2 separate regions of the Homo sapiens genome follow, and region 2 is linked to region 1. The links are contacts of gene promoters, found by promoter capture Hi-C in blood cells and fetal thymus (Javierre and others, 2016). All regions are on one chromosome and are shown on one strand. Each heading gives the region's core, a stretch centred on a gene start or on the middle of the fragment in contact. The rest is flanking DNA. Distances are from core to core; before and after follow the strand shown. Region 1 holds the start of ETNPPL (ethanolamine-phosphate phospho-lyase). Region 2 overlaps COL25A1 (collagen type XXV alpha 1 chain).

The links. The method cuts DNA at HindIII sites, captures the fragments that hold promoters and counts their contacts. A CHiCAGO score of 5 or more calls a contact.
Region 2: a contact is called between a fragment that was not itself captured here and the fragment with the promoter of ETNPPL in region 1, in 1 of 17 cell types (megakaryocytes). The highest score is 5.7, in megakaryocytes.

What each region holds. Positions count from the first base shown.
Region 1 is chr4:108,758,457-108,766,296 of GRCh38, reverse strand. It overlaps ETNPPL (ethanolamine-phosphate phospho-lyase), which reads left to right and starts at 3,244. Exons shown (of 13, transcript NM_031279.4): 1 at 3,244-3,454; 2 at 5,991-6,109; 3 at 6,389-6,548. The coding sequence starts at 3,399. The HindIII fragment of the contact is 7,360 bases long and covers 605-7,840 here.
Region 2 is chr4:109,284,307-109,292,146 of GRCh38, reverse strand. All of the region lies in intron 3 of COL25A1 (collagen type XXV alpha 1 chain), which reads left to right. Among named protein-coding and RNA genes, the nearest start is that of COL25A1, 14 kb to the left of the region's middle. The HindIII fragment of the contact is 2,330 bases long and covers 2,008-4,337 here.

The DNA of each region.
Region 1 (7,840 bases), core at 1,995-4,494:
TGGGCTGTACCTCCTCATTTCAGTCATGCACAAGTATGGTTTGTTTGGCCAAGCCTAGGTTGTTGAGAAATCTATGACCTTCGGATCAGGACTCACTTAATAGAGTGAGCCAATCAATAATGTCAGGACCAAAACTGAAAGAACGTCAACTTCTTTTTTTCTTTTCTTTTCTTTTCTTTTTTTTTTTTTTTTTTTTGAGACAGAATCTTGCTCTGTTACCTAGGCTGGAGCTGGAGTGGCATGATCTCAGCTCATTGCAACCTGCACCTCCCAAGTTCAAGTGATTGTCTTGCCTCAGCCTCCTGAGTAGCTGGGACTACAGGCACATGCCATCACAGATGGCTAATTTTTTGCATTTTTAGTAGAGATGGGGTTTCACCATGTTGGCCAGGCTGGTCTTGAACTCCTGATCTCAAGAGATCTGCCCACTTCTGCCTCCCAAAGTGCTGGGATTGCAGGTGTGAGCCACCATGCCTGGCCCAAGTGTCAACTTCTGGAGAGAAAAGACACTACAGCATACATTCCTACCAAATAATTCTACATTTGAGAAGTACATGAGAAAATATACCCCAAAATACCTTGGGATTTGTTTTTTGATAAAGCTTTGTATAGTGTGGATGTCTGTCGACTTTCATCCATCCTTATTTTGATCCATTATGTGTCAGTTCTTTATTTAAAGACTGTCCTTGGTACTCAGTCAATGTTATATATTCTATCGTGAAAAAAGTTAAATAATGGGGAAATTATCTTTTATGTAACAGTGACTTGCTTTCCCATAAAAGATAATGAATCTAAGAAGCCTTCTCCTAAATAAATGGTTAAAACATAAGGTAGCACTCTTGGGAAAGAGTGAAGAGAAAAGAAGAGGGTTCAGGACTCTACCCTTATAAAGACCAAATCATGATCTCATTCAAGCCCTACTTGTAATGCTTTGAGTCAGAGAGTTTCTTCTTTTTATGAGACAGGGTCTCACTGTGTCATCCAGGCTAGAGTGCAGTGGCACAATCTTAGCTCACTGCAGACTCTTCCTCCTAGGCTCAAGGGATCCTCCCACCTCAGCCTGCCGAGTAACTGAGATTACAGGTACACGCCACCATCTCTGGCTCATTTTTAAATTTTTTGTACAGACAGAATTTCACCAGGTTGCCCAGGCTGGTCTCAAACTCCTGAGCTCAAGTGATGCACCTGCCTCAGCCTCCCAAAGTGTTGGGATTACAGCTGTGTAGCTCCCCACCAGCCACAGAGCTCAGTTTTCAATACAAAGAAATTGGGCCTCAGAAAGGTTAAGAAGCCCAGCTGGTTTATGGAAGAACCAGATCTAGAACCCAAGACTCTTAATCCAGAGTTTCTTAAGGCACTGGGAATATTAACAACAAGAATCCATAAAGTTTTATGAAGGAAGTGTGACTATGACTTCACCAGGTCAAGGTGGTTTGAGAGTAGATATACAGTTGGCAATATCTTTCAGGCACAGAACTAGACCAAGATTACATAACTGGGATTTCTTGCAAGTCTCCAAAGTGCTTCCTGCTCTTCATTTATAAAACACGGAATTCTTTTTTTTTTCTTTTTTTTGTGGAGGGGGATGGAGTCTCACTCTGTTGCCCAGGCTGGAGTGCAGTGGCATGATCTCAACCCACTGCAACCTCTGCCTCCCAGGTTCAAGCAATTCTCCCTGCCTCAGCCTCCTGGGTAGCTGGGATTACAGGTGCCCACCACCACGCCCAGCTAATTTTTGTATTTTTTTAGTAGAGATGGGGTTTTGCTATGTTGGCCAGGCTGGTCTGGAACTCCAGACCTCAGGTGATTCGCCCAGTTTGGACTCCCAAAATGTTGGGATTACAGGCGTGAGTCACGGCGCCTGGCCTAAAATCTGGAATTAACACACTGTTCCTCATAGGACTCCATTTCTCTTTCTACCTTAGGCAATCCAATTCTACTCCTCCTGCAGTGCATGAATATATATTAATAACTTTTTTCAAGAGAAAGATCAGTTGCAAATACTTATCAAATGTGTTGATACATGCAAATTAGGCTTTCCCTGCTGCCCTTTCAAAACACAGAGAGAATAAAATGACCTATCCTTAACCCAATGACTAAGTGTTTGTGTGAACTTGAATAAACCTTCACCTTTCCTGTGCCTCACTGTTCTTATCTACAGAGCAGAGAAGTTAAACCAGATGACTTCTAGTTAAAATAATGTATGATTTAATGATTCAGTTAATTAAGATTCTATTGGGAGGCCGAGGCGGGGGGATCACGAGGTCAGGAGATCGAGACTATCCTGGCTAACATGGTGAAACCCCATCTCTACTAAAAATACAAAAATTAGCCGGGCGTAGTGACGGGCGCCTGTAGTCCCAGCTACTCGGGAGGCTGAGGCAGGAGAATGGCGTGAACCCGGGAGGCGGAGCTTGCAGTGAGCCGAGATTGCGCCACTGCACTCCAGCCTGGGTGACAGAGCCAGACTCCATCCTCAAAAAAAAAAAAAAAAAAAAAAAAAAAAAAAAAGTTTCTACCTGTGCACATATTTAGCTTCAGATATGATCTGTGTGAGAAGACCATCTTGAAGGAAGTCAAGAAATCTAAGAATGAGTCCCGTTTTCAGCATCAAGTGGATATATAATCATTAGAACAGGGAATAACCTCACTTTCCCCGTTCATTAAATGGGGTAACACTCGTGGTCATCTCTCAGGGTTGTTTTGAAGACTGAACAAGATAAGTCATGTGAATGTGTTTTGTAAGTTGTATAGTTAGAGGAATTAGAAGTGTAATCATTGTTAAAGGAGATGTTTGAAACACTGCATATATCATCACTGCCAATGGAGATAACAGGCTGAGTCCGGGTTATTTCTCGTTAGGACGCGTCCTTGTGCTGAGTAAATGGTAGGTTACCTTATCAGACTGCGCAGTGAGTCTTGATCCGGGAAGCGCCTAACTCCTGAATTTTTACCAGAAAATAAAGGACTACACTAAAAAGAAACCAGAAAGAACGTGGGAAGGAGGGAATTCGCAGGCAGAGGAGGAGGAAAAGCAAAGACGAGGCAAAGTTAGGAGAATGAAAGGCGAATTCAGAGGAATGATAGGGGCGGGTAGGGCCGAGCCGGCCTGGCAGGACAGGGTGGTGGCGAATGAGCTGCTAGCCCGGCGACCTGCCCGCGGCCCCGGCGGGGGAGGAGGAGGGGCTTGGCAAAGGGCAACGCCAGAGCCAGACTTAAAAGGGAGATGATCCTAGCTAGTTGACGCCACCGGTGACCTCCGACGCCCCGGGCAAGAGAACGCCAGGAGGGATAACGGGAGGAAGGCCGGCCGGGGCCGCCAAGGCAGTCCCAGGCTCGCGTAGGAGGCGCGCAGACCTTGCACCTTGCACCTTCGCAGCGCCCTGCACCCCGCCACCATGTGCGAGCTGTACAGTAAGCGGGACACTCTGGGGCTGAGGAAGAAGCACATCGGGTAAGGGCACCCTGGCCCGGAAGTAAGTGCAGAGAGGGGGCAATAACGAGTGCAGAAGGTGGAGAGAGAAAGCCGGCTAGGGAACAAACGATGCGCTGCAGCCGCACTCCGTGCCCGCCGCGCCTGTGCACGCGCCCCGCGCGCCTCCACCTGCAGGGGCCGCGCGGACTCCCAGAAACGCTCCTGGAACCCGGAACGCTGGGCTTCCTGCCCGCTCGAAAGTCCCCGGCTCGCTCTGCAGCCGGCGGACTAGCGGGGGCTGCCGGCCGGCTAGAGGGGTTGGTGGATGACGGCCAATAGCCCTAGCAGACACCATTCCAGGGATGGGAGATGGGTGGAAGAAGGATAGCGCTCCGCCACCCCCACACAACTCGAAAGTTTTTGGAAACTGTGAACTGAGAAATATTTTTTCATGATGGCTCCGCAAACAAACCAATTCTGACAATTTTTACTTAAAGTGAGCTTTTTCTTCTTGCATGCTTGGTTAAGTGATGAAGGGTTTATCTAGCCAATAGAAAAACTTGAAACCACCTTCTGTTAGAAAAGCAGAGACTTTATTTAGATCCCTCTTACCCAACTTGCTCTCCCAAGCTGTGTTCTTCCCAGCCTGCTTGTCTTGCCCCCGTCACAAACGACTTAGTAATATAAAGGTGAGTATATAAGACCGACAGGGGCTCTAGCTCTCGTTGGATGTCATATTCCCTGTGTGGACCTCTGTCAAATTAATTGTCTCTTCTATGAAAGTAGGAATAACATTCTACTTCACAGGAGCAAGAAGATGAGATTAATATGTTAGTGTTTTGTGCGTGGTTTTTAAAAAGATACGTGTAAATATAAATGATGATTAATGACCCCGAATACTGTAAAGTCAACCGTCTGCAATATTCACTTGAAATGAACGACTGCAGCCGGGCCAGTGGGCATGAGAGAGCACTTGGGGTTACAAGGAAGAAAACAATCCGCATCCTCTTCGGAGGAATGCTGGACAGTTTCTCAGACTGAAGCTCCTCACCCCAACTGGAGGGGTTTCTGGGTGGTTTGGAAGACTAGTTCCATCTCTCTCAGCCGCTAAGTGGGATCAAAATAATCCAGTTCTTTCCCCATTAATCAATCACTACCCTACTTTTTCTAATCACTCACTGCGTTAGTTTTCAATCTTAGTTAGATTCCGGTAAATGCCTAATGGTTTCTGACATGAGCAGAACAAATTTTCTAAAAGCACGAGTGTAGCCATGGGCTGACTGGATAAAGGAGAATTTTACCTGAAGTCTGACGGGCAAGGTGGAAAGTGTATTAAAAAGGCAATGTGAAGTCTGCAGCTTTCAGCTCACATCCTTAACAAAGTTTTTTTTTGGATTTTAACTTGTAGGTATAAACTAACAGCTGAGTTTGAACCAATAAGAAATTCTTATAAAATACTATTTTCATTTCAGCTGATGATGCTTAAAAAAAATCAATATATAACACAACCTTATGCAATTTTAAAATTTGAGGTTACCTACTGTTTGTAATAATCAAAATTCCTTCTAAACAGTTACATATCAATTTAGTATATTTCTACTACTAGAACTACCTCCAATGTGTGTGAGGGTTTTTTTGTATGTATGCAAAATCACCAAAATAAATAAATATATTTAACTTTAGTTCTTAAATGTTCATAAAGCCAAGATTAGAAGCCTTTGTGAAATTTCTATGTGCTAAAATGTATAATCCAGCCATTCATCCAAATAAAAGTATGGATGACCTTATTATGCTCAAAAAACATATTAAATGCTTAGAAGAATAATTGAATTTCACTATTTAATAATGGAAAATCCATTTGATACTGGACAAGTACCACTCAAAATACATGAAAATGAAAATAATCTATAAAACTTCCTGCGTAGTATTTAACTCTAGGTTATTTGCATTTAGCTTTCAGTGCTATTCATGTCTTTATACATTAGATTGAAGGGGAAACAGAGATGTCTACCTTGGGCTACAGCACAACACAGCCTACTTGCAAATTCTGGTTTTCTCATTTACTGTCTGTGTAGCCTTAAACCAGTTACTTAATTTCTCTGTGCCTTGGTCTCCTCACCTATAAGAGTGAGAAAGATAATAACCTCTCTTTCATAGGATTGTTGACAGGATTAAATAATATTTACAAAATATATAACAGCTTCTGACACATTAAGCCCCCCAAAAAAACTTGGTTATTTTTTTTCTGATAGAACAAAATTTCTCAAAGGAAAATTAGTTATTGGTCTGTGTGATTAGAACCATCAGAGAGTGGATTCCTGTGCCTCTAATAAATTGTCAAATCATGGCATATTTAATATAACAAGCATAAGGAATGTGAACAATGTCATGAATGGGGGATTAACATAAAAGTTTCCAGGTTTACATGAAATGAAAAGAAATGTATGTCATCCAGGTTGTGTTTTCCCTTTCCTTTATGTAACTGTACTTTTCCACTGATGGGGACCTTCATTGAGAAGGAAAAATACTGAGAGTAGTCCTACCAGACCAAAGTGTTTCCTTTGATTATTTCTAGGCCCTCATGCAAAGTTTTCTTTGCATCGGATCCCATCAAAATAGTGAGAGCCCAGAGGCAGTACATGTTTGATGAGAACGGTGAACAGTACTTGGACTGCATCAACAATGTTGCCCATGGTAAATGTCCTGTCCTTGCAGTGCTTTGGAGGAAATGTTCATGGAGTAAAGCTGACTTGGAACACTTAATTTTTGTTTGGGGAATTGCAGTGGCTGCAGTTCCTTTGCTGAGTGGGCCAGTAGTCCTAGTGGGGAAAATCGCAGCAAAATATGGAAGAGAAAGGAACTCAACTTTTGTTTGTTTGTTTGTTTGCTTGCTTGCTTGCTTCATAATTCCTCTTATTCCCAGGCACTTAGAATTCTAACTTATTTCTTGGGCTTTTGTTTCATAAATTTTAGTGGGACACTGTCACCCAGGAGTGGTCAAAGCTGCCCTGAAACAGATGGAACTGCTAAATACAAATTCTCGATTCCTCCACGACAACATTGTTGAGTATGCCAAACGCCTTTCAGCAACTCTGCCGGAGAAACTCTCTGTTTGTTATTTTACAAATTCAGGGTATGCTTCATGGTTTCCCACCCCTCCCCATTCCCACTAAACTTTGTCTACTCTTGCACACAAATCTTTCCTTTTGATTCATGGTGGAGCTTGTCCAAAAGGGTTTGCTGAGTTTCTTGCCATTCACTAAGTGATCACACATTAGGGACCTAGCCTTTCTGGTTCTCCCACTTTATTCTACGACTGTGAATCTAACTGATCAAATGATGCTCACCTCCTCAGGCAGTGCAATAAGTAGCTGAAGGATTGATAGGCCAAGATATTCTTTCAATGAGTGTATGAGTAACTTTAGCCAAGAAATAACTCTAGTAAACAAGCTAAAACTTTTTTTTTTTTTTTTTTTTTTTTGAGATGGAGCCTTGCTCTGTCGCTCAGGCTGGAGTGCAGTGGTGTGATCTCAGGTCACTGCAAGCTCCGCTTCCCAGGTTCACGCTATTCTCCTGCCTCAGCCTCCCAAGTAGCTGGGATTACAGGCACCCGCCACAACGCCCAGCTAATTTTTTGTGATCCACCCACCTCAGCCTCCCAAAGTGCTGGGATTACAGGCGTGAGCCACTGCGCCTGGCAACAAGCTAGACTTTTTAAAGATTTTTGATTGTTGAAAATTGAGCATATTTCCCCAATACAAACATAAGAAAAGAAAAAAGAAGGAAACTCAAATAGATACATTTCAACTTTCATTTATTTATTTATTTTTTTGAGATGGAGTTTCGCTCTTGTTCCCCAGGCTGCAGTGTAATGGCACTATCTCTGCTCACTGCAACCTCCACCTCCCGGGTTTGAGTGATTCTCCTGCCTCAGCCTCCTGAGTAGCTGGGATTACAAGCATGCGCCACCACACCCAGCTAATTTTGTATTCTAGTAGAGATGGAGTTTCTCCATGTTGGTCAGGATGGTCTCAAACTCCCGACCTCAGGTGATCCACCCGCCTCGGCCTCCCAGTGCTGGGATTGCAAGCATGAGCAACCGTGCCCAGCCAGAAGGAGCCCCAAGAGATGCGGGCTGGTCTGGAAGGCCATGCACAGGGCCACCAGCAGCGCCTCGGGGTCAGCGTGGGGACCCTGGGGCCAGCACCAACACCCACAGGCTGGCCATCTCCAGGCAGGCACCTCGGGCTGCCTCAACTTTTTAACTTAGTTTTTTGTTTTGTTTTGTTTGATTTTTAGTGACAGTGTCTCATTATGTTGCCCAGGCTGCTCTTGAACTCCTGAACTCAAGCAATCTGCCCACCTCAGCCTTCCAAAGTGCAGGGATTACAGGTGTGAGCCACCGTGCCTGGCCCCAACTTTTAA
Region 2 (7,840 bases), core at 1,923-4,422, 530 kb before region 1:
CCTCTCTCCCCGATGCTGGCCCCTGAGGCATCTCCAAAGAACCTTAGGACTCCATAGGACACTATTAGAAAATTAATGCAAGTCCAAGCCCCAGAGGACTTACACTTGTCAACACAGAAGTGATCTTTGAAATACTGTACTGTAAGCATGACTAGATGATGGTAGTAAAATTATGTATTCAAATTAAAGTCTAAAAGTGACTATTCATATAATATCATCTCTTTAATGGGTCAGAGTATTCTAGCAAGGAAGCTGATGTAATAATAGTGTCACAGGAAAGCTGGGTAAATGCACTGTGTAACTGAGCATGGTACTGTTCGTTAGAAAAATCTACATCTCACTTCATCCTTTTTCTTAAAGTCACTTATTTTTTAAGACTTCAAGTGACAATATTGTTCTTGTTCTTTTAATGACAATTTTCTGTGTTTCTTCAAATTTCTTCCCTTATATTTTTACTTATTTTTTAATTCTAGATATTCATATGGAGCTTTATTACCAAGTTACAGCAATTCATTCTTTTAAAATGTATTTACTTAAAGCACTTGATTTTTTGATGAATAGTTAATATTTAGTCCACAAGGTAGTATATGAAAAATAACTCTCCCCTAAATTATGTTATTTATAGAAAATATACGTTATAAGACTTCTAGGATCTTCTAAAGATACTTCTAAGATCTCTGAGACTTTCTTACTTGATTTGATTTTTGGTTGTGTATAAAAATGATGATGTTTGTATATTGAAATTTAAATTGATGGCACAATGAGAATACATGAATTGCACATAAGTAGTACTAGGAAGAAGTCTCTAGGAATTAACAGGATTTTAGCCAATAGTGAGCAAGATATACAATACATTTCACATAGAAAGTATAAATCTGGCTGCAATCGTACTGTAATAAGTACTGCAAAAGAAAATTTGAAAGACAATACTCTACCTCGCATTGAAATGAATGCCCACTGTCATCAGCAGCACTGTTTACTGTATGAGTAGCTAGCTGTGGACAGTTGTTTGGCTAAGTGAAGCACCTTCGTCACTTGTCTGGTAGGACACAGAATGACACAGCAGTTCTACAAGTTATCAAGTGTTGATGAGCAATTTATTTTCTCTTTAATACACAGTCTCAAAGTATGGACTTCAAGGAAGACTGGAAGAGAAAATGACTTCTTTTTTAACTGGTTACTTTGTCTTCTGCAAAAAGACTATCAGTAAAGCAACAAAGATAGGAAAGTTGAACAAGTAAGAAAGGCTGGAAAGACCATATAGGCCAAGCTTGTCCAACCCATGTCCCTGCAGGCTGCATGTGGCCCAGGATGGCTTTGAATGTAGTCCAACACAAATTCGTAAACTTTCTTAAAACATTATGAGTCTTTTTGCAATTTTTTTTTCTCATTGGCTATCATTAATGTTAATGTGTGGTCCAAGACAATTCTTCCAATGTGGCCCAGGGAAGCCAAAAGATTGGACGCCCCTGATACATGCCAACCAAAGCTATTATAAACTACAAAAAAAGAGACTTAACTAAACAAACTGTATTTCCTAAATTTCCTTCCCAACCCCTATAGACATACTGACAATTTCCCAGGATTTTAAGCAGCAAGTCTGACAAGTGTGACTTAGTACTACCATACATGTTAAGCATCTGGAAGTTTTTAATTTGAAAAACCCCAAACCTCTAGCATTGAGAAATTCCTTCCATAAAGAGACCAGGACTTTTATGTACTTGCATATAATTTCCTCTGTACAAAATTATTTAATGATCCAAGCTTTAGCTATTTCTGAGGACACTTTCCTGAATATTGGCTTGGTTCTGCAACCAAGTTCTATATGAGGAATGCTATATATTGGTGGTAAAATTTATTTACCATTTTTGGAATTTTAAAAAAAAGGTTCATTTATTTTTATAGCAAAAAATGCCCTTGAATGGAGAAGTCTGAGGTATACTTTCTGTATTCTGTGGGTGAGTTCATGACACATTAGAGTCAGAATGTGTTTTATTCTTTTAAGCTTTCATCTTTTTGAGCAGAAAACCCTTGCTTCCATCATCAATCCTCAAGAAGAAATCTCAGAGGAATTGTATAATCAGTAACATGTATCCCCTGTATATATGTATCATACATCATTTTTTCTCATCATTTTCAAGTTATTACATCTGTACTTTTGTTTATTTTTAATCATATACTGCTAGCATTTTAAACATTCACACTGTTTCACAATTATAGGATGTGATGAGAATAATGTTCATTGGATTCCTAAAAAACCAAGAGTAAATACAGCAAACAGGCCCTTAATCAACAAGCATTGCCCTAACGTGATCCGTGGTTGGCAAGCAGAGTGGACAGGATTGTCTTTGGGAGGTAGCCATATAGCTATGAAACTACAAAAACAGAGGATGTTCTATGTTCCTAAATAAGAACCCCATTCTACTCAGGGGGCTCCCCTATCTTCCCTCCCTTTCTCTAGCATGGATAGAACCCCTATTTTGCCTCCATTCTGTTGATGACACTTTACCTGGATTACTGTCAGCTTCTGATTTGGAGCTTCATCACCCTTGGGTCCCAAAGCCTCTAGACCTTTCCTGGGTGATAGCTATATTCATGATTCAATTTAGCAGCATAACTGAGAAAACATCAATGGCAAATATCAATATTTCTCCTACATTTCAAAAAGTAGCTGATTATTTTCTCAAAAATTACTGTTAAAATATAAATTTCAAAAAAGAAAATTATGAGTTTCATACAGATGTAAAATTAACAAGTGTTAAAGATTTTACTTAAATCATTAAAGAAGGAACTAGTAAGGTGTTATAACCAGTTCAAAGGAGAGTTTAAAAACATACATATTTTTAGTTCAGGAATATTGAAATAGATGTACAAAGGGAGGCAAAACGGACTTTTTCACAGTGGGAAGTCAGTTATACTCAGAGTTTGCATGTCTATAGATAAAAGTAATTTTGTTTTTCTATTAATTATCTACAACTTACACAGTTATAAAACAGCTCTCAAAGAATCAGAATCAGATACATAGGAAAGATGTACTGTAGACAATGCAGTTTTCCATAGGTGTACAAATTTTTTCCTACATTACTAAAGCAACTACACAGGAAACAGTTCTTTAGGTAAGCAAAAAATTTTGTATATATATGTGTGTGTGTGTGTGTGTGTGTGTGTGTGTGTGTGTGTGTGTATATATAATTTAGTATTCCTGGTAGTAATGATGATTGTTTATTATTCTGTTTCCTTTCATATTCCTAACCTATGGATTTGGGGGACTGAATGTTTTCATTTCTGTTAAAATTAGTTATTTAAAAGACAGTTCCTGTGAGTTTGGACTTTATATACTTTATCTGCTAGGCCCATGCGGTGGTGCTAATTGCTATGCTTGCATTACTGGTGTGATTTACATCAGTGTAAAATGGAAAATTGTAACACTGACAATTTGTTTGAGGCAGACACCACTTTGGAAGACACTGCTTCCTGTATTTAGGTACCAATGAATAGTTCCACTAATGTTAAAGAAGGAGTTGCTGACCTCACTTTGTGTTTTGGAAAATTATGTACAGGCAGTTACATTAGCCTTTCTCCCTTTTCTGTACTTCCAGGGAACCACCCTATTAATAATAGTGCCCATTATAAATATTTAATATAAAAAAACCAGAAAAGTAAGATAACAAAGGGGTTAAAGAGCATCTTTGATCATAATGGATTTTGCAGGGAACCACATTGTGATTAGAAAAGAAAATATTTGTGAGTAAATCAATTCCATGCTCCTGTCTTATATTTTTGACTGTGTGTATTTAGCAACAGAGCAAACAGAGCATGTTATACCAACTCCATTACTGTATTTAAAATTTTGAGCTCATAAATGATATTTGTTTCATAATCTACAAAAATATCTAGCCTTTTTCTTTTTCACTAGCAAGAGATGTAGAGGAGGAAAGCCTTAGTTATTCCTGGGCCTGAGTAAGGCTGAGGAAGGGGAAGGACTGAAGGAACTTTTTGAATGGAGAAACCATTCATCTGTAGACTGCATTTGCCTGATATGAGCATATGGTTGCCTCTGGGATTTTACGCTGCTATTTTGGCCCTCCTGGCTTTGACTTCAGATATCTCATCTCCTAGTTTATTTTTTTCTTGGATACTTCCAGCCAGTTCCCATCTTACTCATGCATGTGTTGTTGCTTCAGACAACATTGTTTTTAATCCATACTTCGAAAGATTTGTTTGCCTATTCTTGGCCCATATGTCTCCCATTGGTCTGCCTTGTTTGATCTTGCTTTACCTCTTCTACCCACATGCAACCCACTTTATCAGCTCCTCAAACAGCTCGGCCTTAAGCTTCCTAGGTATGTGGATGCTCTCCTCTGCTCTTGCCTGTCTCAGTTGCTGCCACCTTTTGGCTGAGGCAACTTGGATTCTGGCAGAAGAATGGCTGAAGCTAGATGATGGCCTTGCCTATACATTCTAGGAAGAAAGTATGTCAGAATAGGGGCTATGGGTGAGGGGAATCCATTGAAACTACAGGTGGGTTGGTGGGTTTTGTAGGGAAATATTTATCTTCATTTAAAAGCAAGTTACATTCTGGTTGTCTCCTACTACTAGGTAGAGGAGGGACTAATTATAAATATTAAACATTTTAGATATTAGTATTTAAAAATGATATATTGTGGATGGTAACTGACCTCTGGTATTACCTAATGCCAGTCGACTCTGGCAAAGGTGAAAGGTCATGTATATAGCAGCCTTTAAAAATTTTTTTTATTCAATTAACTAATAAAATGTTTATTGTGACTTACTGTGGGTGAAACCCTGTGCCAAATGCCTGACTGTTTAGGGAAATAAGTAGGCTGCTAAACCCTACTTATTTCTTCACCTAAACATTAGATGAAGAACTAATGGTGTCAGATAAGCAGACTGAAGACTGCAATAGAATTAATAATTACAAAAGTATGGCCTGTAGCAAACCGTATCCAATTTTAATGGACTTAAAACTACAATGATAATTGGTATTTGAACTCATAATTCCAGTTTACTTTTCATGACTTCAAAAATAGTAACATGTTATCAGAGAAATTGGTATTTGGATTTTTTTGTGTGTGTGTATTATGATACTTTGCAGAAATGCTGCTAACACACCAATGAGATGGTTTTTCTGGAGATAAATGATCTCTGCCAGTTGTTAGGTCAACTGTCACATTTTTAACTCCTCCCCAAGATGCCTTCTGGCAGTTATTGGAGCCTTGCTGGCCCTCCTAAATGTTGGATCAGACTCTGTGGTCATGTTTTCTAGCGAAGGCAGAATCTCTGGGTCTTGGTTAGACTCCCTTGGGTTGTGAGAACAGAGATCGAATTAGGTGGCCTTCAGTAACAGTGGTATATAGATTTTCAACCTTCCCATTATTGATATTTTGGGTTGGTTACTTCTTTATTTTGGGGGGCTGGTCTGTGCGTCATAGGATGCTTAGCAGCATCCTTTGTTTCTATCCACTAGATGCCAGTTGCACTCCTTGGCTTCCATAACCAAGACTGCTTCCATATCTTGCCAAATGTCCCAGAGGAAGCAAAAATCATTCCCAGTTGAGAATCATTCTTTACTTATTCCCAGTGAATAAAAAAGGCAAGAATATATACTCTGCAGCTAGTTCTCTTAGAAGAACAGGAAATGAAGGGTAGTCAGAACAGTCAGGATATATGATCATCTTCTCACCGGGAGGCATCCATTATAGTGCCTGCTGGGGCCTAAGAATTTTATTTCTATTTCTATTGTTTTATCAAAGCTGTTCTTTCCTCTACATTATAGCTGCTTCTGTTGCCTTATGCTCAAGGTGTACCTCAAGGTTGAACTCTTTCTTTGTGTTTGATGATAGTATTGTTATTATTATTAAATGATTCCATGCATATAACAAAAATGCAAAAATTTGAATTAAAAGTGGTACACAATATCCCATCTCTCTTCAGAGGTGTCTATTGCTGTAGTTTGTTGCATATTTTCCTAACACAAATTGATTTGCATCATTCTTTTTGAAGGCTATACACTATTATATGATTGTACCACAGTTTAATAGGATGACAGACAACTTTTGAAAGTGCAGATACTATTTCCTGTTTCTAATTTTTCTGTTTCCTGAGGAAAATTACTTTGATTCCTACTTCTATTCCACCAGCCTCAAGCTGTATATGTGGGAGCCCAGTCAATTCTTCTTGACTAAGATATTACTGATGTGGTATGCTGCTGATAAATGCTTAATCACTCTCAAACAGACAAAAAAACAAAAAACAAAACAAAACAAAAACCAACAAACAACAACCCAACTCTGATTTGTAGCATTTGCAAGTTTTTCGGGTGTAAATATCCTACCAGGATTGATTTCAAGTTAACACAGTAATGTTAGGAAGTGATATTTGAGTGTTTATTAGCTTTGCTTTTAGAGTAATTTTTAAATAGTAAGTTTATAAAATTTGTTTTAATAATCACTGTGTTTAACAATGGGCTTGCAAAATCCTGAAAGCTGAACCATCAGCTCTCTCGAGTCAGCATTCAGCTTCTCACAACCACTGGCACTGATAATCCCTTTTTTAGATTGTGTGAATTGCATTATTCGTCATAATGTTGTCTCCAAGGGACAACGCTGCCTTGGCTAGTATTTTAGAATCTCAGTGTTGGAGAGAGTGTGTTTGAAAGTTATCTAGACATACATTACATTTGATACTTGAATTCCCTTGGTGACATTCTGGCTATAATAGTTGGTGACATAAGTCATTGAATTTATGATTATCATTTGAAATAGAGCTTTCAATTTTGGACAATTTGTTAGAAAACTTCACCTTTTTGTTAGGTTGAAATTCTTCTCTTTATATAGCATGGATCATTTGATTCTGTATACCATTCTTGCTCTACATCATAAAAAACAAGTTGAGTACCTCTGTACTATGATAACTCTTCAAGTATTTAAAATGACCTATTATATTTCCTATCGATGGCTTTATTTTTAGAATAAATTCCCTTAATTCATTCAGAGGTTCAAGCTCATCTATTTCTTTCTTAAATTTGTGCAACTGATTCTCAATGAAGCTCCAGATGTGGCCTGACAGGTGTATGCAAGAATGGGAGAGAAAAAAAACTTCCCTAGTTCTAGAAACTATACTGCTAACTAAGCAGACTAAAATTATAATAACTTTCTTGCTGGTCTCGTAATTCTATTGGCTGATACTGAATTTAGCACTGATGAAAATCCTGAAGTTTTTTTTTTTATACATGCTGTTAAGTCCTGTCTTCCTCACTCTTTATTGTATAGGTTTTTTTTTTTTTTCCTGGGTGGGGCATGGGGGGACAAATTCAAGACTACCTATATATTTTTATTAAATACTTACCTGTGTTTATAAAACCTAAATCCGGCCTTGTCAGAATTTGTTGGAATAATTATTCTTTCAATAAATTTCCAGCTTCCTTTGCCTTCATGTGACTTGGAAATTTGATGAAAACTGACTAATGGTGTTTTCTTCTGATTCTGTAATAAAATGCCTAAGCGTGAGAAAGTTCAGCACAGAGCCCCATGGCTTTCTGGTAGTTTTTCTCTTTTAGTTGCCAATAATCTATTTATGAGCACCTTTGGAATTGCATTTTTACAGTGATCCATTTACTTAATTGTCTTCCGTGCATTGCAGTGCTTTCAACTGTGTTCCTCAGAGCACCATTGCCTTTTCTTTTCTTTTCTTGTTTTTGACGGAGTCTCACTCTGTCATCCAGGCCAGGCTAGAGTACACTGGTGCGATCTTGGCTCACTGCAACCTCTACCTTCTAGGTTCAAGTAATTCTCCTGCCTCAGCCTCCTGAGTAGCTGGG